2 separate regions of the Homo sapiens genome follow, and region 2 is linked to region 1. The links are contacts of gene promoters, found by promoter capture Hi-C in blood cells and fetal thymus (Javierre and others, 2016). All regions are on one chromosome and are shown on one strand. The core of a region is centred on a gene start or on the middle of the fragment in contact, and the rest is flanking DNA. Distances in the headings are between cores, read along the strand shown. Region 1 holds the start of RPS6KC1 (ribosomal protein S6 kinase C1). Region 2 holds the start of INTS7 (integrator complex subunit 7).

Evidence for each region. Contacts are between HindIII fragments. The CHiCAGO score rates a contact against its expected background, and 5 or more counts as called.
Region 2: a contact is called between a fragment that was not itself captured here and the fragment with the promoter of RPS6KC1 in region 1, in 1 of 17 cell types (monocytes). The highest score is 6.7, in monocytes.

The regions. Positions count from the first base shown.
Region 1 is chr1:213,047,238-213,052,523 of GRCh38, reverse strand. RPS6KC1 (ribosomal protein S6 kinase C1) reads right to left here and starts at 1,283. Exons shown (of 15, transcript NM_012424.6): 1 at 1,015-1,283. The coding sequence starts at 1,119. RefSeq lists a silencer at 1,055-1,154. The HindIII fragment of the contact is 5,380 bases long and covers 1-1,295 here.
Region 2 is chr1:212,030,334-212,036,171 of GRCh38, reverse strand. INTS7 (integrator complex subunit 7) reads left to right here and starts at 615. Exons shown (of 20, transcript NM_015434.4): 1 at 615-828. The coding sequence starts at 735. DTL (denticleless E3 ubiquitin protein ligase adapter) reads right to left here and starts at 424. Exons shown (of 15, transcript NM_016448.4): 1 at 230-424. The coding sequence starts at 281. RefSeq lists enhancers at 1-139, 155-394, 140-676, 555-764, 5,322-5,371. The HindIII fragment of the contact is 1,190 bases long and covers 701-1,890 here.

The DNA.
Region 1 (5,286 bases), core at 34-2,533:
CATCCTCCAAATGTATATTGAACTACTGTTACTTAATCTGTACCTCTCTTCTTTAAAAATTGATAAAGTTAATTATTAACATTTTATATAACTTGGAGTTAGGCAAAACTGGTTTCAGATCCCAGACAGATCTGCTACTGCCTTGCAATGTAAAGTTGGGCAAGTTACTAAACTTGCTTTAATCTATTTCTTCCTCATTAAAATGAGAATTAAATTGGGTGATGTGCATAAAATGCCTACTATACACATATATTCATGCACACATACGTCACATACATATATACTTATTTAATTTTGATTTATTCTTACTTTCCTAGAAGATGCAGACTCTCTTTAAAACTCAAGGCAAAAGCAATGAAACATAAAGTGGGTACTAAAAATTGGACCAGTTAGTTGATGTAAAGGAGCCTCCCAACTTTAAAATGTGCCCTCATGGTAGCTCACACAAGCCACCCTCAGCAGATTTTTTTCACGTCTCCTACTGAAAAACATGAAAAACTCAAAGGTTTGACAAAGCCCGGATCCACAGTTCCTAGGTTGGTGGCCTAACACTGACATCTGTCCCAAGAATCTGTCTTTCTCACAGCAAACCTGATAAAGGTCAAGAGAAAAAACAACTTATATTACATAAGCCAAACAATACATAAATTAACACTTTTTAATCTGCATTATCTTCCTGGAGCAAGCAAAACCACTTCTGCAAATTGCGAACTCAGAAGAGAAAGTCCAAACGGGATGGGAACTGAGTCATCAATTTAAAACCATCAACCACTGACTGCCCCACCCCCAGAAAGAGGACTCTACCACGACCTACTACAGTGAAGCCCTGGGCATATCACACTCAGCCACTACTCTAAAAATCCCAACCTCCGACACCCAAGTCCCGCCAGTAGGAGCAGCACCCAGTCCCACCCTCGGCTCTGAGCCAGAGTCAGGTACCCTCACATCAGGGTCCCCACCCCAGATCCTCAGGTCCCAATCCAAGCTCTACCCCAGCCCGACACCGGCACTCACCCGGGCGGTGACCTTATATACTGTGTAGCCCCTCGGGTGTCGCTGGGGCTCGGTGACAGTGTAGAAACGGGCCAGGTCGGCACTCCGCTCCCGGTAAGAGGTCATCCTCCCGCCGCCTCTGCCGCCGCCGCCACCCGCCCGGGATCATGAGGGAAACCCGGCGCCGCCGCGGTCCAGGTTCCCCAACGCAGCGGCGAAGCGGCGAGGGGGCGGTGGCTCCAAGGCGGCTCCACGGCGGCGCCTCAGCTGCACAGCTCTGCTTCCGGGTCAGCAGAGAAGCTTCCGGGCCAGGCTATCTCCCGCTTCTAGGGGGAGGGGAGACTCCTCCTTAGATTCTAGCCCCTTTGGGGCACCTGGGACTGGCCTGTAGTTGAAGACTAAGGGGTCGCGCTGCCACCCCCGTCACTGCGGAGACCTCAGGCCTCTCCACTAAAGACGACCTCTTGTACGCTAGCTCCGTCACCTTTTATGAGATTTTATGAGAGTTGGTATAGCCACGCCACACCGGGAGAGCGTGGTCCTCCCTGCCTCCGCCCCGCCGTGGTACAAACTTAAGTGGAGTGTTGAAGGGATGGAGAGATACCATAGCCTAGCACCTTCTTTCCTTACCTATTCACAGCCTATCATTTTAAATACCCACAGCAACATCTCATTCTCTGAGACATATCCCTTACTTCTTTCTAAGACGAATTTCCTTCCATTGAGCGCCTTTCTGTAACACATCTGCACAGCAAGCCCCCAACCCAAAAAAGCTCCCAAGCCAATATCAATCTTTTAAAAATCCCCACAGGTTCGAAAATCTGGAGTCCGCCTCTGGCTAGAAGAAAGAAATATGTCACTCGACCTCTCCGAGTCACTCACTACAGTTTCCAATTTCAGCTGAGGTTGTTATCAACGCTTGGCAGTTCCTTTATCTTTTTGTGATCAAGGTTCCTTTTCATTCCACAAAATATTCATGCCAAGTCTTTGCCATTATCCTAAAGACTCTGTTCCTCTTCCTTTTGCCTCCCTACTCTCCGCACCACCACTCTTCTTTACAGGGAAAAAAGAAGAGGAAGAAGCAGCTATGGCCCTTAGTACCAATTCCTTTGTCTTCTCACATTTCCATGCCAGTCTGAAACGTACACATATCACTTGCTCATTTTTACAGCTAATGACTCCACATGTGATCTGAATCCCATCCTCTTTGGCAAACCTTAAGACACTGTTTCAATGACATTCCAAATCTCCTTTCTGTATGTTTAATCTCTTTCTCACCACTGGCTCCTTCTTTTCAACCTACATATATCTAAGTCTATTAGTCATTCATTAAACCTGAATTCACCACCTACTATGTGCCAGACATGATGCCAATTTGGCATTGGAGTTACAAAGATAGTCCCTGTTCTCCGACCGGGCGCGGTGGCTCACGCCTGTAATCCCAACACTTTGGGAGGCCGAGGCGGGCGGATTACCTCAGGTCAGGAGTTCGAGACCAGCCTGGCCAACATGGTGAAACCCCGTCTCTACTAAAAATACAAAAAATTAGCCAGGCGTGGTGGCAGGCGCCTGCAATCCCAGCTACTTGGGAGGCTGAGGCAAAAGAGTCGTTTGAACCCGGGAGGTGGAGGTTTCGGTGAGCCAAGATCGCACCATTGCACTTCAGCCTGGGGGACAAGAGCAAGACTTCTCTCAAAAAAAAAAAAAAAAAAAAAAAGGTAGATAGTCCCTGTTCTCAAGTACCATCTAGTAGGAAAAATAAAGACACAAAATATACTGTGATAAGTACCATGGTGAATGTATATATGGAGTACTAAAGAGCACATCAATTCAGGATGGAAGATCGCCTAAGGCTTTCTGATAGAAGACTGAGTCTTGGAAGAGAGATGGGAGTTAGCCAGGAGAGAAGGGAGTAAAGGGCATTATTCATTTTGCCTTCTTTTCTTCCTTTCTTTCTCCTTCCACTCACCGTCAAAGTTGTTTAAGTTGATTTTAAAGTAATCTACATCAACATTGCATCATCACCCATTTATTCCCATGTCCAATTCAATCTGGTTTCACCTCTATATTGCTACTCTGAAACTGCTCTGAAAACAGTTTCCAGTGACCTCAATTTGCCCAATATTTCTGGATTTTGAAAGTCTCTGACCATTTCTACCTTTTTAAAACTTTTGTATATTCTTAGCATATGAGTCAGCATTATTTCTCTTTTCTCTTTTATACTCAGATGACTTGCTCTTTTTTCAGTCTCCTTTGCTGGTTTCTATTCCTTCCAAGAACTTTTAGTATTCTTGTTTCTCAAGATTTTGCCTTTGATCCTTTGTTCTTTATTCCCATTGACTTGCAAATGTCTATCTCCCAGCATATCTCTCTTCCAGGACTTGACTCACTTTACCTACATCTTTATTATATATCTAACACTGGAAACAGAACAAATCAAAATCTCAACATTTTTTCCCCTCATATACCTATTTCTATCTCCATGACTGGTTTTACTCTCCATTTAATTACATTAGTTAGCTATTTGATATCATCCTTAGCAACTTCCTCTCCATGTTCTCTGAGTTTCTTTGATTTACCAGATATTATTGATTAAAAATTTAAAAAGTGGAAAAACATGTGCCACGAAAACACTACTAGAAATACTTAAGACAAAGAAATATGATCAGGAATAAAGAAGGACAAAACTTAAAGAATTCAATTCATAAAGAAGACAGAGCAATTCTAAATGTGTATATACCTAATAACAAAACTAAAAATGTAAAAAGCAAAAACGATTAGAACTAAAAGAAGAAATAGACAAATCCACAATTATAGTTAAAATTTCAACACTCAGGCCTGGCATGGTGGCACATGCCTGTAATCCTAGCACTTTAGAAGGCTGAAGTGGGTAGATCACTTGAGGCCAGGAGTTCAAGACCAGCCTGGCCAACATGGCAAAACCTCATCTCTACTAAAAATACAAAAATTAGCCGGCGTGGTGGCACATTCCTGTAACCCCAGTCACTTGGGAGGCTGAAGCACAAGAATCACTTGAACCAGGGAGGTGGAGGTTGCAGTGAGCCAAGATCATGCAACTGCACTCTAGCGTGGGCAATAGAGCAAGAATCTGTCTCAAAAAAAACAAAAAAGATTTCAACGCTCCTCTCTCGGTAATTGACAAAACATGTAAACAAATAAATGAATAAGGATACAGAAAACCTGAAAAGCTCTATCAACCAACTCTACCTGATAGACATTTATAGAACACGCCACTCAATAGTAGCAGAAAATGTTTGTTTCAAGTGTACAGAAAACATTCAACAAGTCAGGCCATATCCTGGGCTATAAAATAAATGTTAACAGGCTGGGCGCAGTGGCTTATGCCTGTAATCTCAGCACTTTGGGAGGCCAAGGTGGGCAGATAGCCTGAGGTTGGGAGTTGGAGACCAGTCTGACCAATGTAGAAAAACCCTGTCTCTACTAAAAATACAAAATTAGCCAGGCATGGTGGCACATGCCTGTAATCCCAGCTACTCAGGAGGCTGAGGCAGGAGAATCACTTGAACCCGGGAGGCGGAGGTTGCAGTGGGCTGAGATCGCACCATTGCACTCCAGCCTGGGCAACAAGAGCGAAACTCCGTCTCAATAAATAAATAAATAAATGTTAACAAAATTTTTAAAACCAATATAAATTGGATTTGCTCTGTGACCTCAGGGAATTAAACTAGAAGTTAATAATAGAAAGTTACCCATAAAATTCATGAATATTTGGAAAGTAAATACAATTCTTAAAGATGCCTGGATCAAAAATAAGTGACAAAAACTTTTAAACATATTTGGAATTGAATGAAAATGGAAGCATATCATAATGTGTGGGACACAGCTAATGCAGTGCTTAGAGGGAAATGTATAACCTTGATGGCTTATAGTAGACAAGAAGAAGGGTCATGAACTAAGCTTCTACTTTAAGAAGCTAGAAAAAAAAATATTGAACCCTAGAGCAAGAATAAGGAATAAAACATAAAGAAAAGAGTAATAACTCAATGAAATTTTTTTAAAAAGAGAAAAACAATGAAATAGAAAAAGAGAAAAGCAATAAAGAAAAACCAATGAAACCAAAAACTGATTCTTTGTTAGGGGGAACTCCAAAAGTTCACTGCTCCACATAAACTATGAAAAAACTAACAAAAACTCTCAGTATTAACTCTTTCAGAACTCTGGAAACTAACCAAAAGCTTACAGCAACCCAGGAACACTTATTTAAGAAAATAGGCTGAATCTCAGCTGGGCGTGGTGGCTCATACCTGTAAT
Region 2 (5,838 bases), core at 46-2,545, 1.0 Mb after region 1:
ACGTCCCTGCCTACGTTACGATTTTAAAAGCCCGATTACGATTACAAGTGTCCCGAGGGGATGAAAGTACAGCTTTCTTTAGTAGTCCCTGCTAACACTAATTTACCCTTGCCATGGGAGAACTCAGAAGCTGAGTTCAGAATTGGAGTCGGCCCTGGTCGGAGGTGGCGTGTGTTTCGGGGGAAATGAATTCCGCCAGCTCCGAGCAGCGGTTGGGACCGTTACTCACCATTTCTCAGGACGCCAAGCTGGGGCTGGCGGAGCACCGAATTGAAGAGCATCAGGGTCGGAGGAAAAGCCTCAGCTGAGAGAAAAGTCGTAGAAATGCCTCCAAGTTCAGCAGAAATCGCAGCTTGCGCCTCTCACAACACAAATCGTTATCGCCTCCAACTCCCGCCACTGTAAGCCCCGGCCGCCAAACTCCGCGCCAAACTGACGTCACGCTCTCTGATTGGCTTCCGAGCGACGTCCGGGCGCCTCAGAGTCATTTCCCCCTTCGGATCCCCGCCTCCTTTTCTCCCAGCCGCGGGAACCTGGAGTCCAAGAGCTCCTTGAGCGCCTGCGCAGGGGGTAGCAGAGGCGCGGACAAACCGCGGGGTGACCAGGGCGCATGCGTAACAGGGCTTGACAGCGCGCGGAAGAAAAACCAGCAAGAAGGCGGCGGGGGAAGATGGCGGTCCTGGGGTAGAGTTTGCAAGCTTTCTGACTAGGCTAGTCGAGTAACTATTCGGGTCATGGCGTCAAACTCAACTAAGTCTTTCCTGGCAGATGCCGGCTATGGCGAACAGGAACTGGATGCCAACTCTGCCCTTATGGAATTGGACAAAGGTATTCGAAAGAGAGGGCTGAATGGGTGAAACAGGCGTGGGGGGAAGTGGCGCCACCAGGTGGTGGTTGCTTTGGGAGAAGACGGATAGGCGCATGCGCATGTCTTCGCTGGGCGGGGAGCGCCTGTGCTTTTGCTGGGGCGTGGGCTTTGACCCCTTCGGGAGGTTGCGGGAAATTTGCAGGATTGTGTGACTGGCCTTATACCGGCTAAACAAGTAGCGAGCTCTAGTGAGAGGCCCGTTTTGACCACTTGAGGGAGCAGTCCCCCGATTTTCTAAGCAGTGACAGTGGCTAGTTTCTAAGAGACACTGCAAAGAAATTGTGAAATTGGTTTTCAGTCTGTTCAGTTGAGACCAGGTCTTCATGAAATGTGCTGAATAGTAATCTTGCACCGACTTGACAGCGATTCATTTGATTTCCATAGCTCTGTTACCTGCGGGTTACAAGGCAGGCTAAACCTGGCCAAGACCATAAAAAAGCAAGGGCCCTGCTCATTCTCTGCGGACAAGTTCCAGGAGTTCTGTTGCCGTACAGGGAGCAGCTTGGTGTAGAGGGAGCTTTGGGGTTACACTGAGTTAAGTTTCAATGCCGCTGATTTTATGATTAACTTCATCTAGCCTCGGCTTGTCGTCTGCAAAGTGGGTACAGTACCATTGAGCCGGCAGAATTGTATTAAGTGACTTAATGGTATGCAAAAGAAGCATTTAGTAAATGCTGAAGAGATATACCTCCCTTCTTAGATGTGGATATGGGAGGCAAGGTCGGAAATTTGTTAGTAAAGAACTCGACTAGTAATATGAAACCTTTATTTCATATTGAGGATTTTTATTGTACGGGAAACATTTCGGCAGCTGGTATACAATTAAATCTTGATTAATCGTAGCCAATATATAATGTTGGAGAACTGGACTAGAACTCAGAAGGGTTTGAGCCACTTCCCAGTTTTCTGAGTTGGACATGTCTATTAACTTTTTTGGGACTCTTTTTCTGTTTATTTTTTAAACTGTGAATATTTTTAGTGGGTTAGTCTAAATAAGAGTTTCTCAGGCTCTTAAAAAAGCTTTTACCTTATTTTGATAAACACAAAAATTTCACAGCCCCCTAATGGGATATTCCTTTGGTTGAGTCTCAGTATCTTTAGTGCACCCCCATCAACCAAGAAAATTATGTTGAACTTTTCCTTCTCTTACCAAATCTTTAGGGGTTTTCTCCTCTGAAAAAAAAAAGTATAATACTAAATGTGTTTTTCTCTTTTTTTTTGGAGACAGAGTGTTGCTCTGTTGCCCAGGCTAGAGTGCAGTGGCGCCATCTCGGCTCACTGCAACCTCCGCCTCCCGAGTTCAAACGGTTCTCCTGCCTCAGCCTCCCGAGTAGCTGGAATTACAGGCGCCCGCCACCACGCCCGGCTAATTTTTGTATTTTTAGTATAGACGGGGTTTCACCATGTTGGCCAGGCTGGTCTCCAACTCCTGACCTCAGGTGATCCGTCCGCCTCGGCCTTCCAAAGTGCTGGGATTTACAGGCATGAGCCACCGCGCCCGGCCTTAAATGTGTTTTTCAAACACTTTCCTCCTCATTCTGATACATTTCTTTCTTATTCCTCAGTGAAAGTTACAGGTCAGGATAATATCTAATATCCCTACGAGTTCTAAGGACATTTTCTACCATTCTGGTGCAGCTGAGCTTGTCTCATGCTGACAATAGGATAGTGGTTGTGGAACAGGGATAAAGATGGGGCACTGAAGAGGAGTCTAGAATGGTTTAATTCCTCAAATTTTGCAGTTGTAAGAAAAAAACCACAATTTTTCCTTTTTAAAGAAGAGTTGAAATGAAAATATTTTATATCTATAGGAAAGAAATCAGGTGTCAATCTTAGACACAGAGTAAGTGATCATTTGCACTCCTCCCAGCAATGCCTGGCGTGAGTGTTTTACAGGTGAATCTCAGGCTCAGAAAGATGACTTGTTCTTTTTCATCTCATCTGTAGTAACTTTTAAAGCTGTTAGGAAATTAAGTTATAGAAATAGCCAGTTTCGTGTAGAATATAGTTGAGTATTTTAAATATTGAGTCATTTCATCTTGTACCTGTTAAAGTATTTCTGTTTTGTGAGCTAAAGGTCAGAAGGCTACAAGTTCCAACTCTTTTTTTCGTTCCCAAACTCCAAGGAATACTGTTTCTGAAATATCTCCCCCACCTCAGCATACACACTCAGACACATGACTTATTTGATCGGGCTTTGTACTAGGAACATGGCAGTTAATGAGACAAAACTCCTGCCCCTATAGAGCTTACATTCTAGACAGCAGATGCAGACACTCCGCAAATATAGCAAACGTGACAGTTAGTGATACATATTATAAAGGAAAATGAAGCAATGAAAGGGACTGGAGAAAACTGATCTGGGGCTGGAGTTGATTTCTTATTTTATGAAGTATAGGCAAGAAAGACCTCCTCAATCAAGTGGAAGAACAGCAAGTACAAAGGCCCTGAGGTAGAAGCCTCCTTTGCATGCAGTTATCTGGAGCAAAGTAATAGGCAATGAGTATAGAAAGATAACCAGAGTCAGTCGGGCGTGGTGGTTCACGCCTGTAATCCCCGCACTTTGGGAAGCTGAGGCGGGCGGATCACGAAGTCAGGAGATCGAGACCATCCTGGCTAACATGGTGAAACCCTGTCTCTACTAAACAAAATACAAAAAATTAGCCAGGCGTGGTGGTGGGCACCTGTAGTTCCAGCTACTTGGGAGGCTGAGGCAGGAGAATGGCGTGAACCTGGGAGGCGGGGCTTCCAGTGAGCCGAGATCACACCACTGCACTCCAGTCTGGGCAACAGAGCAAGACTGTCTCGAAAAAAAAAAAAGAAAGATAACCAGAGTCCCGTTCAGGTAGGGCCGTGCAAGCCATCAAAAGGACTGGCTTTCATTCTGAGTGAGAAAGGAAACCATGGAGGATTTTCAGCAGGTGTGTGACATGATCTGACTTTCCTTTGAAAAGTATCAGTCTGGCTACTGTGCTGAGAATAGACTGAAGTGGGGAGGGTCAGGGACCCAAGTAGGGAGACCAATGAGAAGGCAACTATAACAATCCAGGGAAAAGAAAATAGTGGCTTAGACCGAGATGGTGACACTGAAAATGTGTGAAGTGCTGAGATTCTGGATATACTTTCAAAGTAGAGCCAAGAAGATTTGCTAATGGATTAGATGAGGATATAAGAGTAAGTGGTCAAGAAAACTTAGAGGTTTTTGGTATGAGCTACTGGGAGGATGTATGTATTGTTTACTGAAATCAAATCAGTTTGGGTCATGTTAAATTTGAGATGTCTCTTAGACATCCAAATGGAGATGATTAGTCAGTTAGGCATAAGATGTAACCTTTGAACGCTATTTTAAAGAAATATTTTGTGGCACTGGTGTCCTTAGAAACACACTCAGGAAATGCTGCCATTCATAACCTGTTATATATTTATAACTGTTGTACTTTATTCTGAGCCTTTTGAGCAAGCATTGGCAGTAAGCTGATTGTTTCTGATCTCTATAGGAATAAGTGAATACTATTTTGAAGCTGACTCAATTCCATTACTTTAGGATGTAGTTAGTAACAGGAAAATCATCCTTCATGTGATAGCCATTCATTTACTCAACAGATATTTACTGACCACCTGCATTGTCTCAGGCTCTATACTCAGACTAGGGGCTATGTTGGCAAACAAGACATCTTTAAGGAGATTGCATACAAATGTAAGGAGATGGACAATGCTAGATCAAATGTGGTGCCGTTAGTCAGGACAAGAAGTTGGATTTTGTGCAGAGTGCAATGGGAAGGCATTGAAAGTTGTAGGCTGATGGCCATGCTGCTTGAGCTTCTGTAAGACTGAGCATACACAAGCAGAGTTAAGTGTCATAATCAAATACATTACAGCTTATGTTTATCTGACACATTTCATGATATGATCATTACTATACATAATTGGCAATATAAAGGATGCATCTCACAAAAATTAGTGTAACTTTTTCACTAATATAATTTCTTAGTCTAAACATTTTTAGATCAGCTGATGGAAGGTTATCCTGATGATTTGGGAAAACTTATGCAAGATCTCCTTCCCCCTGGGAAAAGAGGAGTCTCTTAAATGATATTATTCAGCCTATCTGCCTTCTGCAATGTTGACCTTGGAAAGGATGAGATGAAAGCAATGGGGAAGAGAGCAGTGACTCATTCCCTTTCTTGCAGCTGATGCAATGGGAAGGGAGGAAATATAGAGGATAGATTTGTTACTAGAGGTGCTGGTGAATGTAATGCTGTGTGAAAAACCTTGATGGTGTGCTTAATGAAAAATTTAGTTATGAAATAGAGAAATGATGTGAATCAGGACAACTGTCTCTGCACTCTAATTTCCCCCTTAGACGGTGTCACCTCACCTGTATTCCAAAATACCTGAATTCTCAGACCATCAAGAAAGTTTGTCAAGAAAGACCACAGATTGCTTTTACATTATCGATATGGCTCAGATGTTGTTGGTGTTTCAGTAAACAAATATGAGGCCTTTGGGGAAGTATCTTCATAGGCCCTCCTCAAGAGAAAGGCCTCAGCAGCCAGATTTGTTCCAGGTGACTAATTCCATACCATAACTGATTGATTCAGAAGTAGGCATGTGACCCACACTGAGTCAAATTCTTTCTCCTGAGAATCTCTGCTGCCAGACCACACTTAGTCTGAGAGTGTTGAGAAGCGGACCTATAAAATCATATAGAATTAGGCCGGGCGCAGTGACTCACACCTGTCATCCCAGCACTTTGGGAGGCCGAGGCGGGCGGATCACCTGAGGTCAGGAGTTCGAGACCAGCCTGCCCAAGATGGTGAAATCCCATCTGTACTAAAAATACAAAAATTAGCCGGGGGTGGTAGCAGGCACCTGTAATCCCAGCTGCTCAGGAGGCTGAGACAGGAGAGTCACTTGAACCCAGGAGGCAGAGGTTGCAGTGAGCTGAGATCATGCCATTGCACTCCAGC